Regions from separate parts of the Homo sapiens genome. Here region 1 is linked to region 2. Evidence: promoter capture Hi-C in 16 types of primary human blood cells and fetal thymus (Javierre and others, 2016). All regions are on one chromosome and are shown on one strand. The core of a region is centred on a gene start or on the middle of the fragment in contact, and the rest is flanking DNA. Distances in the headings are between cores, read along the strand shown. Region 1 overlaps ABLIM3 (actin binding LIM protein family member 3). Region 2 holds the start of AFAP1L1 (actin filament associated protein 1 like 1).

Region 1 (5,639 bases), core at 1,674-4,173, 120 kb after region 2:
TTTGCTTTCTGTGAATTATTTGCTACCTTGATTTCTTCCTGAGGAATAAGGAAGAATCTGCCCTAAACAGAAGAAATTATGTTGGCATGATCTACTTTCTCAAGCAGGAGGACTCTATAATGACAGAGGAAAGGTTGTGAGTAGCCACATGCAATCATTGTTGTGGCCTTTCAGCAGTCATCCCTTAGCTGGGTGGGTAATCAAACTCACCCAACCCATACAGAGCTCATGCTGTTGACTAGATGTTCTCAACTGGACCAGGCATGTCCCGTATGTCAGAACATTCTCTGGAACAGTTCAGCCTCCTCAGACGCCCTCTTTTGGGCTAGAAAAGGTACCCAGATCTGGGATCAGTTATCCAGAATTGCCCTCCTTTGTTCTGTGTCCTACTCTCTTTTACTAGGTTCTCTGAAAACAAAACTGACCTCCAGGAGGTCAGGGCAGGATATTGTTTGCCCTGTTATTTGCCTAACTGTATCCAACAGGATATGACATCACCCTTCTGGGAATGGGTCAGTTGGGGGAATAAGGACATGTGGCAGGGTTTTGCTCACTTCATGAGGACATTAATATCATGGCAATGTTAATCAATTGCTAACTTCAGACAGGATTTTCTCCCATAATCATTAACAGATGTGCTGCAGCTTCCACATCTCTGTGTGAAGAATCACTTCTACATATTTGATGTTTTATGGATCATCTACTGGACTGCAGTGGCAAGGTGACATAAAAATATTAAGCTGTCACTGTGTAATTTAATAGGAAGTGATAATTGTGGCAAGCCAGAAACTAAGTATATACCCCATCCAAAGCAGGCAATCCTATTGATTGCTGTTAGGAAGAAAAATTGGGTCAGGGCTGCAAAATCCTCCGACTTCATTTTGTTTTTAAGAGAGCCAGAAATCCCACTTCTGATTTCCCAATTTCCCATTGTTGGCAAATAATTCAAATTCACTAAAAACCTGGTGTAGGGCAAATAAGACGTGTCCCTTTACATTGGCCACCAGGAGGCACATTTTGCCCAGCTGTGTGACCCATGATTTTAAAGGCCACATTGGTTCTATTTACTGTTGTATCTCCAGCATTATGCTTAGTGCAGAGCTGGTGTCCAGTAAATACCTGATGAATAAACAAATGAACAATCCAATTCTTATTCCCTGTGTTGGACAGGCCCAGGAACTAGGAAGATTGGAAACGAATGTCATGACTAACTTCCCTTACACTATTGAAACACCACAGTTGTAAGAAATGACCAGGTGGGGTGGAAAGTGTGGCAAACAGACTGGCTGTGGACATACTAAATTACTGGGGTCTTCCCATGTGGGGACCTCCTATGTAAGAGCACTTCCCTTCAGATTCTTAGGAAGAGAGGGTCTACCTCCATGGGTCAGGGATAGCAAAATGAGGGTTTAAACATCAAGACTAGATAGATAAACTTAGTGACTTGCATTTAGTAACCAACTGTTAGCATCTCACGCTAGTGTGGACAGTGGCTGACATTCAGGGGAAACCAAAACACAAGAAAATCTCCTTGAGGAGTCATTTCCTTAACAAACACTCTATTATGGATTGAATTGTGTCCCCACAAACTCATATTTGAGGCCCTACCCCTCAGTACCTCAGAATATAACCGTATTTGGCAATAGAGTCTTTACAGGGATAAACAAGTTAAAATGAAATCATTAGATGGGTCCTAATCCAATGTGACGGGTGTCCCTGTGGAAGGGGGAATCTGGACACAGAGAAACACATGGATAAAGGTGATGTGAAAAGACTCAGGGAGAAAGGCAGCCATCTCCAAGCAAAGGAGAGGCCTCGAGTAGACATTTGTCTCGCAGCTTTCAGAAGGAACCCTGCTAACACCTTCGTTTTGGACTTTTAGCCACCAGAGCTATAAAACAATACATTTCTGTTGTTTAAACCACCCGGTTTGTAGCACTTTGGTGCAGTAGCCCTAGCAAACTAATATATACTATTTATTTCAGAAACCTTTGTTATGTGCCATGCACTGTTTTAAGGAATTCACAACTAACTTATTTATTCTTTATATCTCTTCTCTGACAGAGGCACTATTATTTGCCTCCTTGTAATTATCATTAGAGATGAGGAAGTGAGGCACAGAGAAGGTAAGTGACTTGCCTAAGGATACACAGAAAGTACAAGCAGGGCTAGAATTTGAGTCCAGCAACCTAACTTCAGTCTGTGCCCTTAAGAACTGCAAAGGAAGAATTTATCTGGCAAAATACCCAGAAAGTCGAAGGTGTTCAGATACTTCTGGTTGTTTTCTGTACTTTTACAATGGTTTCTGCCTAAAGTTGGGTAATAGCCAGTTGTTGACCGTTCACCACAGCAGATGCTATCTCAGCAAGATAAAGCTTTTGCCAGATAGGAAAGCTGGAGTTCAGAATTGATATCACTTCCTTTACGCAATCCAAGTGCTCTTGAAATCACGTTGTGATTTTTCTGAGATGTGTTATAGTCATTTTGGGTGATTTTAAAATTGTTCCTTACGTTATTCCTCTAACCCCTTCTTAGCCTCAGGTAATCATCTGTCAACAACTGCTTCATTCATTTGGGAAGTACTGTTTTAAAACAATCTCTATCCTTGTGGAGTAAATAATCACTTCTACTTTATCTGTTTTGCAGATGTAGAATTTCTAGAGAGGGCATCCTACTGCGTTCTTGTGTGTCAGGATCCTGTCTTCAGGGATCCTTAGATTTCTTGATCTGGGCAATGGCATTAGCAGAGGAAGGTCATCATGCCCCGTGTGCTGGGTGTCTTCTATTCTGAACTCCCTCACCTCTCCAGATCCGTTCTGCCTGCTTCCCTACTCTGGACTGTGCCCTGGGAAGCTGCTGACCATTATGAACCTATCAAATGCCTTCCTTGCCCTCTGGCTCCTGATTGGATTTGACCAATGGGAGGTACCCATAGGAGATCTGAGGGAGAGAGAAGAGGAGGATCAGGATATTTATCCTCCTAGTTCTTTCCTTGGAACTAGGCTGGCTGCCTTCCTGGGGCCACAGCCACAGTTCCTGTCAGGCAGCCTTCACCCCATAGCCAGCTGGGTCTCTGGGTCCAGCTAGGGGCAGTTGTGGTAGCAGTGGGTCATGAGCCACAGTTACTAGGCTCCTGGTACTGGGTCATGCTTGCTTCTCTTTGTTTGTTTCTTAATGTCCTTCTCACACACTTGTGAAGAGTCCTTCCATTTAACTCCTCTCAAACTGCCAATCTGTTCTCTGCCAAGACCCTACCTAATAGAATCCTCCTTTTCCTCTTTGCCTTATAAAACAATCAGTGGCTAGGCCATGCAGTCTTTATTTTCTAAAAGATTTTTCCCCTTATTTCTAGTTTTATAACCATCCAAATTTTGGCCCGAGACGTTTTCTGAACTAGGACAATTGGGATCCTAACTTCCTGTCTTCCCTTTTTCAACCCATGCCATATACAATGCCAGGTTAATAAGCTTCCTGTAGGCTTCCCGGGAGCTATGAGTTTCCTATGTAGAAAATCCATCACCTACTGTAATACCAGAAGAACAGACTAATTTTTAATCAGAGGATTTAGTTTTAATGACACCATCTTTCCAGAACTTTGCTTTACTCAACAGTCAACTCAACTTCAGACTCAACTCCATTCACTGAGACCCAATGCCTGTGAGTTTCTAATGTTATTTCGCTGAATCCTTAGAAGAACCCTGCACCTTGGCATTTATTGCTCATATTTTATACATGGTAAAATTTAGCTCAGAGACATGATCTATTCTGTCCAAGACCACAGAGAGAGTACATGATAGATCTTGAGTTTGAACTCGAGAATCCATACCCCAAAGCTCAGGTTCTTGCTGTCCCAGCATGGTCTCTACTTATCCCATGACATCTTTGTGGGAGTTATTTGACCCTTCAATACTCTCTTCAACAGAACAAAGTCTACTCTAAAAAAGTAATTTGTTAGCATACAAATCCATGGTAAAGACCAACAAAGGGGCTAGAGGCAGGAGGAAGCCTATAAAATGAGTAGGAGCAGTATGTGGTACCATTGATCTTGGTGCACTTGATGCTCTGGAGGGTGAGGAGGCCAGCCTTGGTGAAGTGTGAAGTGTGGGGCTGGGCAGAGGGGCTGGTGCTAGTGGGGAAAGGGCTTTCTCGGCAGAAGGAACCATGCATGTAAAGTCAGCAGGAGCAAACCCTTAGAGGGAATGGGAGAAGGCACATGTGACAAGGACACTGAGAACTGTGCACTGTAGACAAGATGGGGCTGGTCAGCAAGGCCAGGAGCAGGCCACATCGGGCCTTACAGGCTTGCTGAGGAGTTTCCTTTCTCACCCTGGGAGCATGGGAGCCTCACTTTAAGCAGAGTGTGATACAGAGTAGGGATGCGGCCGATCGCTGAAGGGGGCTGGCATGGATGAAAGGAGGCCAGTTAGAGGCTGCCTCAGTAGGTCAGGAGACAAATGAGAGATCCTTGGAATAGGTTGAGAGTTCATGAGAGAAAGAAAGGCTGGATGTTGGATCTACCCTACAGAAGACAAAGTGGCAATGATTGGCCAGTTTCCCTCCTTTCCTCTGAAGTCCTTCAGCGAAGCGAGTGTACTGACTCAGTATGAGCCCAGGCCTTTCCAAGCCTGGGGTGTCCTGCTCACATGTTTGGTGTCTATTTTCTCCTGAATAAGGACCAGACCCCACCTGCTGTGCTCTACCTAGGTCTGCCCACCACCTCACTCCAGCATCTCCAAAATTACCCCTTTCTTAATATTCAGCTAGATTTCAGAAGAAAGGATTCTAATGAAACTAAAATTCACTCTGAAGAGCCACTGACTAAGCATGCTCTTGTTTTTGTAATCTAAGCATTTTTTTATTAGTAAAAACAATTTACAAATGTTTATAAAACATCTCCTCATAATCCCATTTAATCCTTAAAAAATCACACTTCAGGTGTGCTTCTCAATTCATGAGAAGGATGTGACTGAAGTCTGAGAGGTTGCGTGACCTGCTTGCTAGTGTCATAAAATCCACAATGACAGCCACAATGATGCCCACAGTGATCATGACAGTGTGACCACCCATCACTGACATGATGCCAGCTGTGCCCACAGCCAAGGTACCACACTCTGCATACTACACTAAACATTAACATTTGGTTTCCATTCCCAGCTGAGGTATGCCTCATCATTTTCATTTTTTGCTCATGAGACAACCATACTGAAGACCACACATCTAACACATAAAAAAATGAGAACTGGAACCTGGAACAGTCTGATTCCAGGGCCTGCACTCTATCAACTCTTATCACTGCTCAAAGACCACAGCCCTGTGCTCCTCTTCTCCAGATAAAGTGATTAGGAATTTCTTATACAGATGACCCTTGAACAACATAGGTTTGAATAGTGTAGGTCCACTTACACAGATCTTTTTCAACTAAAGGCAGATTGAAAATACAGTATTTACACAAAATGAAAAAAGAAAATGACAGGCTAATATTCCTGATGAACATAGATGCAAAAATCCTCAACAGAATACTACCAAATCAAATCCAGCAGAACACCAAGAAGTTAATTCACCATATCAAGTAGGGTTTATTCTCAGGATGCAAGGTTGGTTCAATATACACAAATCAATAAATTGATTCGCCACATAAA
Region 2 (5,954 bases), core at 2,066-4,565:
ATAGGCCCCATCCTATGGGTTGTTCTGAGAGGAGCCACATAAGAAGCTGAGGACAGTGCCTGGCACATGGCAACAGTTTGATGATTTCAGTTATTATCGTGAATACCAATGTGTGGTTTTCTTCCCTAGTCAGCTGGGCATGACAGTCCCATCTCTCACATGGTAGGCAGGAGGCTGAAATGAGACCTGTGCTTCTTAAGCCTTCCCTGATGACAGAAGAGAGTGCACACCTGCCTGGGAACAGGGGTACAAGAAAGGTCTGCTGGAATACTTTTTTTTTTTTTTTTTTGAGACAGAATCTTGCTGTGTCGCCCAGGCTGGAGTGCAATGGCTCGATCTCGGCTCACTGCAACCTCCACCTCCCAGGTTCAAGCGATGCCTCCTCTCCTGTCGCAGCCTCTCGAGTAGCTGGGATTACAGGCGCCCGCCACCACACCCAGCTCATTTTTGTATTTTTAGTAGAGATGTGGTTTCACCATGTTGGGCAGGCTGGTCTCGAACTCCTGACCTCAAGTGATCCACCCACCTTGGCCTCCCAAAGTGTTGGGGTTATGGGCGTGAGCCACTGTGCCCAGCCTGGAATACTTGAAGTCTCATGTTTTATCTTAAAAATGCATGCAGATTTTTCATTCTGATTCATAAACGGTTGTGTTTGCAATTATTTATCAGAGTAGAGAACTGAGGAGCCAGACAGTTAAACTGATCTTGTGTGCCCAGCCACAAGACCACTTTACTTGAGATGGCCTTTGTAAGTCACCAAGAACTGATCTGAGTATACTTAGTACTATTCTCAAACTGATTACTTGTACAGCAATGTTGATTTTTAAAAAGAGAATACTACTAAGTATTGCTGTACAAGTAATCAATTCGAGGTGCACTATAAAGTGTGTTGTATTTTACTAATTAAACCACTGTTGGAGCTCCTCACTGTGCACTATGTGCCAGGTGCAGTGTCAGCAGATTGATCACAATAGATCCACTCCTTGCCTTCCTGAAGCTTACTTCTGGGTAGGGAGGCCGACACTAAAGAGTCAGATAACTATGTCTATAAAGTTGTGACAAGAGGTGTAAAGAAAGATAGCAGGCTAGAAAAGCCTGCAGGGAGAGAGCAGGTCAGAGCCCTCCTAGGCTCTCAGCACCAAGGGATTCCTGGGAAGTCTGACTTCCTAGGAAGAGTGCTCTGGAGGCAGCCTTCTGACGTGGAGGTTGTTGGTTACCAAGCATTTAAAGTGAAGTGAACTATTGTCACTCTGTCTTAGGATGACACAGTGCACTTTCCACAGGCCTGGGTAGGCCTAGGTATGGATTTTTGTACTGGAGATCAGACAGGTTGGTATTTAAAAACTGGTGGGGAGTGGGGGTGGTGGAGAGGTTGGGGAGGTGGCGGGCGACTAGGAGTGTGAAGGGGAGGGGGGATGGTGGTATTTGCTTTAGACGCATTATGCAGGAGGTGGGAACAGCAGGACTGAGGGGTGTGAGAGGTGCCTCTTCTCTCTGTTTTTCCTCCCTGATGTACACTCTTCACACTTGCCTAGAAATCAGTTAACAGGTGAGAACTGCTTTACAAATCTAGGCCTCAGTTGCTAAAGAACCAAACAGAAGCCCACTCTCTTTCCTGCCTGCCCTTCCCAGTCCCTGAAGGAGAAGGTGAATGCAGTATTCTCTGTTGGGGAGGGGCAAGTGAGGAGGTTGAACTGGAAGCCAGGAGTCCCCTCTGGCCCTCTGAGCTCGCCAAGCCTGACTTTCCGTTTAACAGGAGTAAGGGAGGTTACCCCACACCTGCTCCCGGCTCATCCCTGCCCCAGTGCCTGCTAATTGCTCCCATGCCCCTGTTCCCTTCTTTTTTTCCTCCCTTCGGGGGCTCAGCACAGCAAACAGGCAGATGGGGGAGAGGTGTGAGATTATCGTGGGGAGGGGAATGAATTTTCCATTATTAATAACAGCAACAACAACAACACTTCGCCTGTTGGCACAGCACTCACTAGTTTATCTAGTGCCGTCACACCTGTGATCTCTTTGGATCCCAGAGGTGCAGACTGAAACCCTGGGGTTCTGATTCCCAGCCTCTGACACTGTTCACATGTCCAAGCAGGCCACTTCTTTACAGACACACACATGCCCATCTGGCCATTGCCAAAGGCCATGTCTAGACCTTTACTTAAAATGTGCGCTGCCGGGCGCGGTGGCTCACGCCCGTAATCCCAGCACTTTGAGAGGCCGGGGCCGGCTGATCACCTGAGGTCAGGAGCTCCAGACCAGCCTGGCCAATATGGTGAAACCCCGTCTCTGTTAAAAATACAAAAATTAGCCGGGTGTGGTGGCGCATGCCTCTAATCCCAGCTATTCGGGAGGCTGAGGTAGGAGAATCGCTTGAACCCGGGAGGCGGAGGTTGCAGTGAGCCAAGATCGCGCCACTTCACTCCAGCCTGGGCAACAAGAGCGAAACTCCGTCTCAAACAAAACAAAACAAACAGAAAAAAATGTGCGCTAGCCCCCTACGAATGCTGCCCTCTCGGCTTATGTCAATCTCAATTTCAGTAAGTCCCCTCCACTTCTGTGAAACGTCTACCAAATACACTGGAAAAGGGTCGGCAAGGTGCCTTGGAGACCATCTAGTCCAACTTTGTCGCTGGTCCAGAGAGAAGGGCTGGGCCGAGGACACAGCTGGTGCGGGATAGAACCACCCCCGCCTCCTCCCTCCCTGGCGCACACATGCATGCACACGCGCGCCTGCTCACGGCGCTCCTCCTTCTCGCAATGCCCTAGGCAGCTGCAAACTTCGGTCCCCTAGAGCTTCTCCCTAGGGGCTGCCCACAGCGGGTGTTTCGGGAGTTGAACCTGTACACCTTGTTTTCCCCTTTAGAGTGGAATGAGGTGGGAGGAGCTCGCTGTCCTCCGGAAACTAGAGGGGGATCTTTTATGAAGTTACAAATCGTTAGCCTATGAAAACTCTGATTTCACACACGAGAGGCGAGTTGGCCCCAGGACACGGGCGTTGACACGCACCGGGTTGTCCCGGCAGCCGAAGGCACCTTTGCATAAGCGCCGCGTCTCCCAGTCCCCTCCGAGCGTTCCTCAGCCCCCGCCCCACCGCCCGCCTCTCTCCCTCCTCCTCTCCGGCTTCAGATCGTCCAGTCTCCCTTTCCCGCCCGGCGCCGCAACAAGTGCGGGCGTCGCGGCCCCTCTTACCCTGGCCTCGGTCCATGGCGCCGGCCCGGTCCCCGGGGAGCGGGCCGCAGGGCGCAGGGGCTCCGGCGCGGCTGGTAGCGGCCGGCGCGCTGCGCTCTCAGGCCAGCCCAGCGGCCGGCGCTCTCTGCGGTCCCCTCCCCCAGACAGGATGCTCGCCGGCAGCCCCCGCCCCGCCCGCGCCCGCGCCCGCCCCTCAGAGCCGCTCCCGGAATAGACCCGAGCACGCCTCGCCCCCTGGGCCGCAGCCCGCTGTCCCGTGGTGCCGCACACGCCCCGCCGCGCCCTGCCGCTCGCTCGCCCTCCGCGGCGCTCCCACTTGGGCTTGGAGGACCCTTTTCCCCGTCCGCACGCGTTCGTTCCCGCGCCCGCGCGGCCTGCCCCAGCCCGGACCCAGGAGGTGTGCGGCTTTGCTTGCACTCCGCTAGCGATGGGGTCTTACCACCGCACCCCTCAGCCGGCTCCATGCCGGAATGCGGAGACTGTTGGAGCGCGTTTTTATCCTAGGGAATCAAAACCCCCTTCCCTGCAGCCGCCACCCATTTCCTGGCTTTGGGCTTGTCTTCTCCATTCGCCGCGGGTCTTTCTTGAGCACCTTCTAAGCCAGACAGTGGGCCCGCGGCGATGCCGGTGCAATGTCAGTGGTGTTGCGAAAGAGGAGTTAAATAATAACAAAGATCTTCAGAAAGAAAAGCACCTGGGAAAGGGAGAAAGAGAGGCTTGCTGAAAGGTGGGCAAGGGCTTGGGACACTTTCAACTTTTGAGGTTCCTTGTGTACTAAAACGTGAAAACATAACGAGGATCTGGGAGAATTCAGAAAAAGAATAGAAAAATGAGTAACACGTGAAAACATGCAGAACAGGGTGATAAAAAATGTGGAAATGAATACTTTTAGCATACAAAATACAGTGCAATATAAGTGTACTTTTCGCAAGATTGTAGAAAATATTGCTATGACCAGTGTGGAACAGTAATGGGATCTAAGTTTAAAGCTGTATGAAGAATGTCAACTTCTTCACCTTATTAGTATATCCCTGTGAAAATAGGTCTCACTCATTTATACACAATATCAAATGTCTGACTTTAAGACCCTTCATAAAGTCCAGGACCAATTGTTCTCCTAGACACTGCTCCTCCCACCATGGGCCAGGCCATGGTTTTCAGCTTTGAGCTGACCACTGTTCCCTACTTAGAACATTCTGGAACAGGGAACAGCTACCACAGAGGTATGGAGGCAACAAAAGGCCTGGGAAAGACCCTCCTGTACTTTCCTGGACTGGGAATATTTTCTTTTCTTCTTTTTTTTTTTTCTTGAAAAGTCTCCCTTTGTCGCCGAGGCTGGAGTGCAGTGGCGCGATCTCGGCTCACTGCAACCTCTGCCTCCCGGGTTCAAGCAATTCTCCTGCCTCAGCCTCCTGAGTAGCTGGAATTACAGGCGCCCACCATCACTCCGGGCAAATTTTTGTATTTTTAGTAGAGACGACGTTTCGCCATGTTGGCCAGGCTGGTCTCGAACTCCTGACCTCAGGTGATCCACCTGCCTCGGCCTCCCAAAGTGCTGGGATTACAGGCGCCAGCCACCTAGCCTGGCCGGGAATATTTTCTCTATTGCTTTTATGGGCAAATTAAAATTAACATTTTCTTAAAATATTGCATCAGTAATTTAGTGTGTGTGTGTGTGAGCACTCAGACCAAATGTGATGTTGTGAACAGTGTATGAAAACTTGTGCATGGCTCTTGTTCTGTTAGTTTGGTGCAAAAGTAATAGTGGTTTTTGCCACTGAAAGTAATGGCAAAAAACGCTATTACTTTTGCTCCAATCTAAATACTACATAGTATAATAACTTTTCGTCAATGAGGTTTTCTTGCTCATCTGTGCTATGGGAAGCCTCATACTGTAAGTCCTCACAGGACTGTTGGTAGGGCAAATGAAATAATACAAACCCACTTTATAAACCACAAACAGCTATAAAATATGAGCCATTATTATTTTCTGAGTTCCTTTTTGTTGCTGTCCCCTTTTCCAATTTGAAAAGGTCAGTTTCAATTCTAAAGCAGCCAACCAACAATTTACCAGTGGATTAAGTTTTAAAAGTTTATTGTTTGAACTCTGAACACTTGGAAACAAGGCCATAAATTGTATTTTATTTTATTTTTTAATTATTATTATTATTATTTTTTGTATTTTAGTAGAGACGGGGTTTTACCATGTTGGCCAGGATGGCCTCGATCTCCTGACCTCGTGATCCACCCGCCTCAGCCTCCCAAAGTGCTGGGATTACAGGCGTGAGCCACCGCGCCCGGCCTCCCATAAATTGTATTTTAAGTTCTCAGGCTAGCTCACTAATTCTTCTAAAAACATAATATTTCATTTGAAATAATTTAGAAAAACAGTATGAAATGTTACTATTGCAAAAACAGACGGAGGCTTTTGTAAATATTTTTATTTTTATAATGTTTAAAAAAATATTTAAGATAGAGACAAGGTTTCACTATGTTGCCCAAGCTGGTCTCGAACTTCTGAGATCAAATGCTCCTCCGGCCTCGGCCTCCCAAAGTGCTAGGATGACAGGCATGAGCCTGTAGAGATGTTTAGAGAACTTTCAGAAACTTTCAAGGACTTTGGAGATATATTCAGAGAATTGGAACGAAAAAGTAAAAAAGGCTAAGGAAAATGGAATAATTTATGGAGTGGAATTAACTGAGCTGTGGTCTGGGAAGGATATAGAAATGGGAGAACACAGTCTGTGCACAGTTCTGAGAATCAA

What was found. The method cuts DNA at HindIII sites, captures the fragments that hold promoters and counts their contacts. A CHiCAGO score of 5 or more calls a contact.
Region 1: a fragment that was not itself captured here is called in contact with the fragment with the promoter of AFAP1L1 in region 2 in 8 of 17 cell types (naive CD4 T cells, naive CD8 T cells, total CD8 T cells and 5 more); the score reaches 9.7 in naive CD4 T cells.

Annotation. Positions count from the first base shown.
Region 1 is chr5:149,147,347-149,152,985 of GRCh38, reverse strand. All of the region lies in intron 2 of ABLIM3 (actin binding LIM protein family member 3), which reads right to left. Among named protein-coding and RNA genes, the nearest start is that of ABLIM3, 8.7 kb to the right of the region's middle. RefSeq lists an enhancer at 5,562-5,639. The HindIII fragment of the contact is 1,092 bases long and covers 2,378-3,469 here.
Region 2 is chr5:149,269,220-149,275,173 of GRCh38, reverse strand. It overlaps AFAP1L1 (actin filament associated protein 1 like 1), which reads right to left and starts at 3,315. Exons shown (of 19, transcript NM_152406.4): 1 at 3,190-3,315. The coding sequence starts at 3,205. RefSeq lists enhancers at 1,715-2,254, 2,255-2,796, 2,797-3,336. The HindIII fragment of the contact is 5,831 bases long and covers 1,000-5,954 here.